3 separate regions of the Homo sapiens genome follow, and regions 1 and 2 are each linked to region 3. Evidence: promoter capture Hi-C in 16 types of primary human blood cells and fetal thymus (Javierre and others, 2016). All regions are on one chromosome and are shown on one strand. The core of a region is centred on a gene start or on the middle of the fragment in contact, and the rest is flanking DNA. Distances in the headings are between cores, read along the strand shown. Region 1 overlaps LOC100505782 (a long non-coding RNA gene). Region 2 overlaps KRT33A (keratin 33A). Region 3 holds the start of KRTAP2-4 (keratin associated protein 2-4).

Region 1 (4,056 bases), core at 575-3,074, 350 kb before region 3:
CAAGGCCCATACTTTTCATTCCAACTTGGTGAGTTCAGACAACATCCCTAACTGCTCTGAGCTTTGTTTTCTTTACTCTACAGTGGGATACTTGTAACTGCTTTGTAGTGTGGTTATAAGGATGAAAAGACACAACTATATGGGAAGCATATGGTATAATACTTGGTGGCACATAGTAGGTGGTCAAATAATAACACAGTAGGCCGCACATAGTAGGTGTCTATCTAATTTGCGTGTATAGATTTGTGAATGTGTGAGAGAGAATTAAGTAAAATATTGTATACCAAGTGCCAAGCTCGGTTCCCTTCACATAATAGATGTCAATAGATATTACTTCATGTGACCTTTATCTGTCCTTTATGAACATTGTTTTTCGCGTGGACTGGCCTCTTCCCCACAGGCATAAGCAACACAGTGTGCATATTTTCCTTTTTGTCTCTCCTCTCTCCTTCATCCTAGATATCCTCCTAAAACAAACCTCAGCAAAGAAGAGCAAACTAGGAAAACAAACAGAACTTGCTTATTACATTGGAGAAAACTGCATGCTAACTGATTTGAAGTACAGTAATCCAAACACTGGCTCCTCTTGAATTCATCAAATCCTGTTTTGTGACCTGGTGCTTCATTCACCTAGGATGAAGTCACCACAAAACTTGTCTATTGCTATGGAGCAGTGATTCCGTCTTCCAAGGGTGGTCCCCAGACCAGCAGCATCAGTGTCATGTGGGAACTTGTTAGAAATGCAGACTCCCTGGCCTGACCCCAGACCGCTTGAATCAGAAACTGTGGTGTGGGGCCTGAAAACCTGCATTTTTTGCAAGCCCTCTGGGTGATTCTGATGCTGGTTAAAGTTTGACCACTGGTGGAGATGTTATGAAAATAGAAGCAGACAATATTTTTAGCATAGAGGAGTACAAACTTCACTCTTACAGGCTTCAGAAATGCAATTTGGCTCTTTGGGTTGACATTTTGTGTCATTCAAACTCATTTCTTTGGGGGTCCAGTACTTGGGACAGGCCTGTTGTTGGCTGTTGCATTTCTGAAGTTGTACCCAGTTCTCTTGAGCCCACTTCTGCTTCTGAGTGTTTTCTTGTGTTCATCCTCTTTTTTTTTTTGTCACCCAGGCTGGAGCACAGTGGCTCGATCTCGGCTCACTGCAACCTCCACCTCCCAGGTTCAAGCAATTCTCCTGCCTCAACCTCCCGAGTATCTGGGACTACAGGCGTGTGCCACCACACCCAGCAAATTTTTGTATTTTTAGTAGAGATGGGGTTTCACCATGTTGGCCAGGATGGTCTCGATCCTTGATCTCGTGATCCGCTTGCCTCGGCTTCCCAAAGTGCTAGGATTACAGGCGCGAGCCACTGCGCCTGGCCTGTTCATCCTCTTTTTCTGGAAAACTGTCTCCCATCTTTCCTGCCCATCCAAGTCTTCCCAATCTTAAGTTCCAGACAAAGTGTCTTTGATGGCCCCTCTATATCTCTAAGCTCCAGTCACTTCTCCCTCCACTGAGTTACGTGACCTCTTTTTCTGCTCTCAGCTTTTTGAGGGTGGAAATTTCTCCTTTTCATCTCTGCATCCCCCATCCCCTTGAGAAGGGCTTTGGTATAACAGGAGTTCAGGAATATCAGACATTCAGAGTAAGTCACCAGGATAAGGCAAATCATGCCTTGGAGAATATCACCCACATCTGTATAGAGTTACAGAGAAGGGTCCCCATGCGTCTCATTGACTGTATATGGGACCAACTGGTGGCTGGCTGGTTGTCATGGCTGAATAGCCAGTGGCTCCAGCATGGTTTACACAAAAGTCCTGGGCAAGAAGGTTTTCTGGCCATCTACTGGCAGCCTTTCAATCTAAACTAATCAGAAATCCCACTGTACAGCCCGCACTTAAGAGTGATAGTAACTGTTACATCATGGAGCATGTCCAGGGAAACATTCCTGGGATGGCAAGGGGACTTTGAACCATGCTGAATGCAGAACCAGGAGTAAGAAATCTCACATCTGCCACAAAGAGCTGAGAATATGGCAGAATGATTAGATTTATCCTGTATGGGACACCATGGGGGAGAACTGGAGAGTAAATGAACTAAAGGGCCAACTCTCTGACTTACTTGCCAATGTATTACTAGCCTCCAGCTCAGCCCCTGGTTGGCACAGAGTAGGTACTTCATAGCTATTTGTTGAATGAATGAATGAATGACCCAACAAAAGCTATAGGGAGAGGTAACACGAAGGTAGATTTGTGAAGACTTTCTAAAAATTCTCTATAATGTGAGTGCCTTAAGGCTGAGCTAGCTGCTGTTAATTTTCTGGATACCAGTGTCTTGCACAAAGCCTGGGAAGCTGTTTGTAAGCCACAGGAACTGATGGTGTAAGCTCTCCTGGAAAATGGTGGACTAGATGACTAGTTGGAGGAAGGTCATCGAAGGGATTTAATGCAAATGGGTACTAGACTAGAGGACCCTGAAGTCCCTTTCGTCCTGGAGATGCTATGTTGTAGTGCCAGCTGAAACACACTTGCTGCTTCAAGGGCCCTCGTGGTGAATTCATTCATCTTAGGAATGCGGTCAAATTAGCATCTTTGTTAGCATAGACTGGAAGCTGGCTAGCTGCCCTTTTCCAGGGTGTATTGAACAAATGGCCACTGGCTTATTTGTTTTAGAAATAGGGGAGGCCATAAAGGTTCTGATGCTCTGAGTGTGTCTGAAGATTAAGGAAATTTAAATTTTGTTCTAGAGTCTCCCAAGCAATGGATAATCAAGGTAGATGCATTTCAAAGAAATGCAAAAATATTTCAAAAGATGAAAGATCAAAGTTCTTGAGTACGTATCTTCTGTAAACAAGGGTGATGAGGGACTCAGTCTGGTGAAAGGGTCAATAGAAAGGAAAGATGCCTGGGAAGGTGGGTGAGGCCCTGAGAACAGACACCATAAAGTGTTAATCACTGCCTGCCTTAATTAGCCTGTAGACTCCAGTACACAGAAGCATAATTTTATTTTCTGAAAATTGCAAACCATCAGTTTTATTATGAGCCGTTTTTTTCTCACTCCCAAAACGCTTATCTGTTTCACGTATGCACAGGGAAAGTCTTAATTGCCAACATCTGTTTTATAGGTTGTGTATTGATTTTAATTCAGTTCAAAATACTTAAAAATTTTTAAATTAGATTTCTTATTTAACCCAAGGAGTATTAAAAACTGTGTTAGTTTTCAAACACCAAGATTAATTTTGAACTTAGGTTTCATTTTCAGTTTTCTAATAATTTGTGTAAAGGAACTTTCCACCTTTTTTCTGCTACTTTCCTTCAAAAGGAAGCTGGCTATTTATTTTTCCTTATACTTGAAAGTCGTCTTCCAGGGCAGATCCCTACCTTTCACTCACCTTTGCCTCAAGACCATGGTCCTGGTATTTAAGACTTTTCACAACCTGGACTCAATGCAACTTTCCGGGGCTTGGGGATAATGTCTCCATTATAAATACCAACACAACTAGACTATTTTCCATTTTCCAAATGTTTGATTGTGTTTATTTTGTTCTCTATGAGAGAAGCTCATTCCCCAACCCTTTATAAAAAATATCATTCAAAACATATTTGGAAAATCCCCTACTCCATGAAGTCTTTTTCCGGTCTCTCAGTGAGCTCTCTTCCACCTCGAAATCTTTGCAGCTGTCTTTTAAAAAAAAAAAAATACTTCCTTTTACTGTCTTCATAATATCAAGATCATTTACTTTTTTATCTTTCTTATTAAAATCTAAAATCTCCTTCTTACAAGACAGCATAGATGTGCGTTTGTTCCGCACTGGGCACTCTACAAATATCTATCAAAACAAACAAATCATGATTTTTCCCTTTCTTCAATGTGCCTGATTGACTAATATTTTAGGTTTTGCTGCATTGGGAACATTCAGAGGTAGGAAAAGAATGTGGGAGTGAGAGAGACTTGCAGGACATTTTAGGAGCCTTTAGTTCTTGATTATTTCATAGACATAAGCTGACAGAAGGGGAAAGATTTCACAGCCACAGAAAGTGGGCTGCTTGAAGAAGACCTTG
Region 2 (3,803 bases), core at 1,304-3,803, 280 kb before region 3:
AAAAGGACTGAGTCCAAAGGAAGCTGGGGAAACGGAATCTTTTGTAAAGACTGGGCCATTTTCTTTCTCCCTCATCTGAGCTTTTTGCCCCTTGGACTGCTGGCTGCCTCTCTCTTCTAGGTTCCTACTTATCCTGATTTCATTGTCCTCACCTTCATGCCTCTGGGCTTCTCCTGGTGCACAGTGTCCAGTGAGAGCCTAAAATGTTTGGCCCAAATTGGGAAGATTGGAAATTACCTAGGACAAAGTAGTCCCAGTTGTCTGGGACATCTGGGAACATGTGGCTTCTTCCCTGATCCAGTCCCCTGCAATTGCTAGTTTACCTATTTGTCTTTTCTGCTTGATTGAAAGTTTCTTGAGGGCAGGATCAAGTGCTTACCAATTTTTGTATCCTCAGCTCCTAGTATCATGCCAGAAACATAGTAGGTGTTTTTCATAAATGTCAACTATTATGATCAGCTTCTCAGTATTGCTCATTAGGATAGAAAAAAGATTATCTACTTATACTTTTTGCATATTTTGGTGTTCTTTTTTTGAATATAATTTTGGAAATATTCATTGAGTACCTGCTGTATATAGAAAGCATTTAATAAGATAGACATCCTGATCCTTCCAAGGAAGTGAATTAGGAAGGACTGCCATTGGTGAAAAATTACCAAGTCCTTGCTCATTCTTGAATGTTTTGGGCCTTCTAGATCCTGTGCAGCAAGTCTGAGAATGCCAGGCTTGTGGTGCAGATCGACAATGCCAAGCTGGCCTCAGATGACTTCAGGACCAAGTGAGTGGGCAAGCGGGGTGTTGCTGTTTATTTCTCTTCTCTGGCAGCCCTCCTTTCCTTTAGCCTGTTGTCAACACAAGTTAAACAAACAGTGACTGAGCTATGTTCTAGCTGCTTTCTCCAAGATTCACAGAGCCACCACACACCGTAGCTCAGAGATCCTTTCCCCAGGCCTTAGACTTCCTTTCCTCCTTCTTCTCCTCTGTGACGTGACACCCCTAGTCGTACTGTGAGTTAGTGTAGACGTGTTGGCCCCCGATGTTCTCCTATGCACAGAACCCATTCATGAGAATGGAGAATGTGGAAGCATATTATTTTGGAAGTCTTACAGTTTGTCAGCTTTTATCCTAAATCCACTGGCTTTCTTCTTTTTTTTAGAGACAGGGCCTTGCTCTGTCACCCAGGCTGGAGGGCAGTGGTGCAATCATAGCTCAGTGTAACTTCAGATCCTCAGACTCCTGGGCTCAAGCAACCCTCTCCCCTTAGCCTCCTGAATAGCTAGGAATATAGAAGTCTATCCACTGGATCTTTAAACGTAAAATTACCAGTGCATTTTCTTCCAGCTCGATGCTGAAAACCTAAACAAAAGAGATGGCTATAAAAACTACAAACCCTAATTCCTAGTTGCCTGACTAACCAAACCAAAGCAGAGTCAAGGCCAGGCCTATTCCTGCCCAGCCTGTTCCTGACCCTCCTGTGATCACAGATATGAGACCGAGCTGTCCCTGCGGCAGCTGGTGGAGTCGGACATCAATGGCCTGCGCAGGATCCTGGATGAGCTGACCCTGTGCAGGTCTGACCTGGAGGCCCAGGTGGAGTCCCTGAAGGAGGAGCTGCTGTGCCTCAAGCAGAACCATGAGCAGGTGAGTTCCCTGAAGAGTGATGGGCTCAGACTAGCCAGGACCTGTTTCACAACTGCCACAGGGTCCAGGACAGGCTGTCAGTAGAGGCTCAATTAGCTGAGGAAGTAATTCTGCATACAAAAAGGGATATGTAGAGAATGACTAATCTAAAAACCTGTGATATGAGATTAGGATTTTTCTGCCAGAGGCAGGAATGAGAGTGAGGAAGTTGGCAAGCCCAGTAGTGAGGAAAGCTGGGTAATGAGGCAGAAGCCACAGCCTCTCCTGTGCCCAGGTTAGAGTGCATGCAGCAGCAATCTTCTATTCCAATTCTCCATTTGTAGCTGGAGAAGCCAGGATGGCCTAGGCCCATCAGGCAGAGAGGGCTGAGCTAGAACAAAATGCAATTCTCTTCGTTCCTGTCCAGAGCTCTTTCTGCTTGCTGTTCAGTGTTGCTTGGAAACAGCCTTGAGCAAAATGCTCACCATTATGGCTAAGTCAGTTGGGCAAAAAAGAAGACGTGTATTTTATGCAACCTGAAATCCAAGAACAATGTAAATGGTGACAGTTAATATTAATCAAGTGCTTAGTATGTGCCAAACATTGTGCTAAGTGCTTTAACTCCGGAGGCAGTTCTCATGTTAAGATGAAGAAATCGAGGCTTCAAGAAGCTTCTAGAAGCAATGTATTAAGTGGTAGAGATGAGGTTGAATACAAATTTGTCTGAAATCCGCCTAAGCCCAAGTACCAAGCTATGCTTAGCAGGGAAGTAAACAGATACTTATTGCCTTCAGCAAAATCTATGCTGGTGGAATCAACAAATCACCCTTTAAGTCTCTTCTATGCCAGGATGGCAGATTTTGAAGTAAGCATTCTGTATTTCCTCTTTAGCTAGACTCTGTTCTTTTTATTATCCATGCTTAAGAGTCAAACATGTGAGGCTATATGGTATACTAGCAAAAACACTGAACTGGGCATTTGGGGACCAGAGTTTAAATAATGGCCCACCATGTATCAGCTTTGAGCCCAAATCACTGAATCTCTCTAAATGAGGAGTGATACATTTAATACAAAGAGCAGAGGGAAGTCATGGGCTTGAAAGTAGTTTGTAAAAAGTGGAGTATACAAATTAGTCATTGAATATAGATCCTGGTTAGTGACAGGATCAGAGGGAACAAAGTTTCTTGAAAGCTTAAGAATGATCAGAAGTTGAATTGCATTCTCTTAAGGAGAGCACCAAGATCCTTTGTGAAATTTAAAATTTTGCCCTTTCTCCATCAGGAGGTTAACACCCTGCGCTGCCAGCTTGGAGACCGCCTCAACGTGGAGGTGGACGCTGCTCCCACTGTGGACCTGAACCAGGTCCTGAATGAGACCAGGAGTCAGTATGAGGCCCTGGTGGAAACCAACCGCAGGGAAGTGGAGCAATGGTTCGCCACGCAGGTGGGCATCTAAGCACGTGGCCACTCAGGACCCGAGGCCCCCCAGGGCCCCGGAGGCAGGGTCTGATCCTTTCTCCCCTTGGGTGTTTCAGACCGAGGAGCTGAACAAGCAGGTGGTATCCAGCTCGGAGCAGCTGCAGTCCTACCAGGCGGAGATCATCGAGCTGAGACGCACGGTCAATGCCCTGGAGATCGAGCTGCAGGCCCAGCACAACCTGGTGTGTATTGTTCAGACCTGCTGGTGAGCGATGGGAACTTGGGAGGCAGAGTCTTGGGGATGCCCTTGGGGCCACACACTCTCCTTAGCTCTTGGAGCTTGTGAGTTCTTTGGAACCCCATGGAGGAACCTTATAAGGAGCAGCTCTCTGACACTCTCAATCTTCCCCACCACAGCGAGACTCTCTGGAAAACACGCTGACAGAGAGCGAGGCCCGCTACAGCTCCCAGCTGTCCCAGGTGCAGAGACTGATCACCAACGTGGAGTCCCAGCTGGCGGAGATCCGCAGTGACCTGGAGCGGCAGAACCAGGAGTATCAGGTGCTGCTGGACGTGCGGGCGCGGCTGGAGTGTGAGATCAACACGTACCGGAGCCTGCTGGAGAGCGAGGACTGCAAGTCAGTATGGGGGTAGTAATCTTCTCCTTGGGGCATGTTAGGTTGCTGTGGAGATGAATAGTCTTCTTGATGGAAATGAATTTATAATTTCAAGCTTTTGTTTGGAGGAAGTCCAAGGAGGAACAAT
Region 3 (3,692 bases), core at 394-2,893:
TAAGGGCTATTCAAGGGTATGCTGAGGTGGAGGGTATGGCAGACACATCTGGCAGCAATAACTTAACTTAAGCATACCCTGAGAATGATCCTACAATCAAAGAAGAATGTATGCTTGGAGTTCTGAGCTAAGGATCTGGGAGTGGCCAACTTGGAGATCCACTCCTTATCTATGAAGGACATTTGAATCCCCACCTCATCCATTAGAACACAGGTCATACTGGGGATTGAGGCCCTTTGTTTTGGATTAAATGGAGGTTGTTAGGTGGAGGGTTCTAATGAAAATACTGTGTGAACTGCATGCTTTTTACAAATAATAGCAGTTCTCCTGTCCAGATACCACCACTGGACCACCCTTGTATGTAAGTTCCACTAATAAACCCTGCATCATGTTAGCTTTCTCCAGGTCCCTTCTCTAGCTCTCAGACACATTGTCATACTTAGTGGAGTCAATGGGGGTCCAGGATGACAATGTGTCATCTGGGCAAAACATTTCCCTAATTCTCTTCCAGTACCACTTCTAACCTTGCTGCTGAAAGGAAAGTTCATTACTTATTTTTTTAAATCTGTGTTTAATATGTATAAATGTAAGAGGTTCAAATGCAGCATTGTTACATGGATATATTGCATAGTGGCATGAAGTCTGGGCTTCTACTTTAATATATGTTTTCTTTCCTGTCTAAAGACCATGGTTTACTGAATCCAATGAGCATAAAACTCATAGTAGAGGCTACTTACTGCAGACTGAGGAGACCTGGATCTCAGACCTCATATGGTGACCTCATTGTGTGACCTTGGTACACTCTCAGGACCTCAGCTGTAGAGTGAGGGCATAGGCCTACATATTCTCCGCAATCCCTTCCCGGACTCTACAGATGCAACGACTAATTCCAAACAAATTACAAATATAATAATTGCAATGGATCCTTGAAGAGGGTTTTACAATCAAGGTAGAAGTTGAGTTTGGATTGGAAGGATGAGGAGGGCATTCCAGGTGAATGATGACACATCAAAACCAAGGCAGGAAAGCCCAGGTCCTAGTCAGGGGAGAGTGACCACACCAGTGGCCAGGGATCTGCATTTCGTGTGGTCCCTGCTCATATGAAAAACCACAAGCCTATCTTTAAGTGAGTCATGGAAGGAGCTATCTGTGAAGCAGATGACTACTGGTCTGCACTAGGATGATGCAATTAACCTGCTACCATCATGCCCATGTGCATTAATAAGGCAAGTCACTGCTTGGGTGCCGGTGATGGGAGCCTTTGAAGACAAGGAAGAACATGCTAATTTTAGCGCCAAAGGGCAGAGCGATTAGACACTAATTTAGAAAACACATTCTTTTCTCTCTTATGGGTTAGGAATATTTCAAAGGAAAATTAATCAGAAGTGAATCCAATGTCTAAATTTAGTGAGGATAAACAATACAAGAAAATGAGCGAATATTTGTGGTGTATGTACATGAATATGTATGAGGTGAAGAGTGACCAAAATACCATTAGTCAATGCTAAATCTTCACTTAATTGGCCAGAAGATGCACAAGAAAATGATCATATGTTGAAGGGTCATCAGCTCCCAGCCAGGGTATATAAAGGGCCCAGAGGGGGAGGAGGACATTCACACCTGAGAACATCCAGCTCCTCTCAATAGCCCAACCCACACCAGCCTCAGACACCACCATGACCGGCTCCTGCTGCGGCTCCACCTTGTCCTCCCTGAGCTACGGGGGAGGCTGCTGCCAGCCCTGCTGCTGCCGCGACCCCTGCTGCTGCCGCCCCGTGACCTGCCAGACCACCGTGTGCCGCCCCGTGACCTGCGTGCCCCGCTGCACGCGCCCCATCTGCGAGCCCTGCCGCCGCCCGGTGTGCTGCGACCCCTGCTCCCTGCAGGAAGGCTGCTGCCGCCCCATCACCTGCTGCCCCTCGTCGTGCACGGCTGTGGTGTGCAGGCCCTGCTGCTGGGCCACCACCTGCTGCCAGCCTGTGTCTGTGCAGTCCCCCTGCTGCCGGCCCCCCTGCGGCCAGCCGACCCCTTGCAGCACCACCTGCAGGACCTCCTCCTGCTGAGACCCCAATGCCCCCACAGAGCAATACACTGAAGCCTAAACATCTATCTGGTGTTTTTAAAAAGTTAAAAGAAAAATAGATTTTTTTTCACAAGGTGACAATAGTGATTTTTACCATCTGGATACAGCCTGGTGTAAGCAGACGTCCATTACCACCCTCACCCACATTTTCAGGTGTCTACATCAGCCTTAGTCATTATGGATAGTAAATCGACCTTTAAGAATTCCTGGGGTGGACTTTGCAAACACATTCTACAACCTGATGGTTTTTACTGCTCAAACTGTCACCATCATCTTTTGCAATGTGTTGCTCACTGTTGTCAATAAACTAATTTTTCCTGGCATAGCAGACTGCCCTGCTCCCTGATTTGTTCGTTAGTGCATGTTTATTAGCGTACACAGATAAGCAAGATTTTGGAACCTGCACAAGGGAAACAAAGCTCAACCTAAGCAAAACCTTATCCATAGAAATCTCATCTATTCAGTCATTCAGGAATTGTTTATCAAGGGACCTCCAGTTGACAGGTGCTGCCTGATTAGTGATGAACAAGCTACATGCCTTGTATCCAAGAAGCTTATGGTCTAATGGAATAGACAAAAGGAAAGACAATGTTCATGAAGAGGGGTAGAAGTGGGAATAGCATATGCCAAGCCCAGAATGACCACTGGTAGTAAACTGACCAGCACAGCGCATCTCATCTTCTTACCACAGTTCCTAGAGTAGCATTTTTCAAAGTGTGGCCCATGCGTCATACACAATAGAATCTCTTGCAATTGCCTATTAAAATGCACATTCTTAGGCCCCAAACCAAACCTAATGAATCAAAATCTCTGGGAGTGGGGCCCAAGGCTGTTTATTTTCTATCACTTCCATGTAATTCATTAGAATTTCAGGACCATTATTTCAGAGGAAGACCAGGATTTGAGCTCCTTGAGGGCTTAACAAGCATGGCCTGGAAGCCTTCCAAGAATAGTCACAAGGACAAGCCACAATGAAGACACCCAAAGTGAAGAAAAAAATGTAATATAATAATAAGTATGAAACAGCACCTGCTAAACTGTAATCAGAAGAATCGGTTTGGCAGAGAAGTGAATGTAAATGAATGTGCAAAAAAACAGTATCTTGAGTTTGTCATAGGTGGAATAAAATGACAACAAAAAAAGAGAGACAAAAAGTAAGAGATAAGGGATGAATAAAAAGTGAAGAGGGGAGGCAAGGCAATGAATAGGAGGAAGAGTGAAGAGGAAGATGATGGAGATGATGAGAAAGACAGAAGAGGAACAGAGACAGGCACTAGGATTCCTGGTACAAGTATTTGGTATTTGAAGATGTTACAGGAGAGCTAGGCCAGTCCTCAGATTACCCATGTGGCTAGGAAGTGTGTGCACATCAGGTGGTCTGCTGCCTGTCCTTTGCCCATCTCTATAGATCCATGTCTCACTGCTCCCCACTAAGATTCACTTCAAGCAACACTGACCTTATAGTTATTAAACATTTGCAGTTCCAAATGTTTCGCTTTTCCTCATGTTCTTTCACTTATCTGTTCTTTTACACACTCTTTCTCTTCACCTTCATCACCTACTTAACTCTGATTCATTTCCAAGATTCAATTCAGTCTTCTCCAGTAGT

Evidence for each region. The method cuts DNA at HindIII sites, captures the fragments that hold promoters and counts their contacts. A CHiCAGO score of 5 or more calls a contact.
Region 1: a contact is called between a fragment that was not itself captured here and the fragment with the promoter of KRTAP2-4 in region 3, in 3 of 17 cell types (naive CD8 T cells, activated CD4 T cells and total CD4 T cells). The highest score is 7.3, in naive CD8 T cells.
Region 2: a fragment that was not itself captured here is called in contact with the fragment with the promoter of KRTAP2-4 in region 3 in 2 of 17 cell types (total B cells and naive B cells); the score reaches 6.0 in total B cells.

The regions. Positions count from the first base shown.
Region 1 is chr17:41,412,039-41,416,094 of GRCh38, reverse strand. It overlaps LOC100505782 (a long non-coding RNA gene), which reads right to left. Exons shown (of 3, transcript NR_040111.1): 3 at 3,507-3,676. Among named protein-coding and RNA genes, the nearest start is that of KRT37, 11 kb to the left of the region's middle. The HindIII fragment of the contact is 7,068 bases long and covers 1-4,056 here.
Region 2 is chr17:41,346,321-41,350,123 of GRCh38, reverse strand. It overlaps KRT33A (keratin 33A), which reads left to right. Exons shown (of 7, transcript NM_004138.4): 2 at 696-778; 3 at 1,485-1,641; 4 at 2,902-3,063; 5 at 3,155-3,280; 6 at 3,456-3,676. Among named protein-coding and RNA genes, the nearest start is that of KRT33A, 2.6 kb to the left of the region's middle. RefSeq lists enhancers at 2,663-3,163, 3,164-3,664. The HindIII fragment of the contact is 520 bases long and covers 2,294-2,813 here.
Region 3 is chr17:41,063,830-41,067,521 of GRCh38, reverse strand. KRTAP2-4 (keratin associated protein 2-4) reads left to right here and starts at 1,643. Exons shown (of 1, transcript NM_033184.4): 1 at 1,643-2,406. The coding sequence starts at 1,677. The coding sequence ends at 2,063. RefSeq lists enhancers at 1,373-1,909, 1,910-2,447. The HindIII fragment of the contact is 6,863 bases long and covers 1-2,638 here.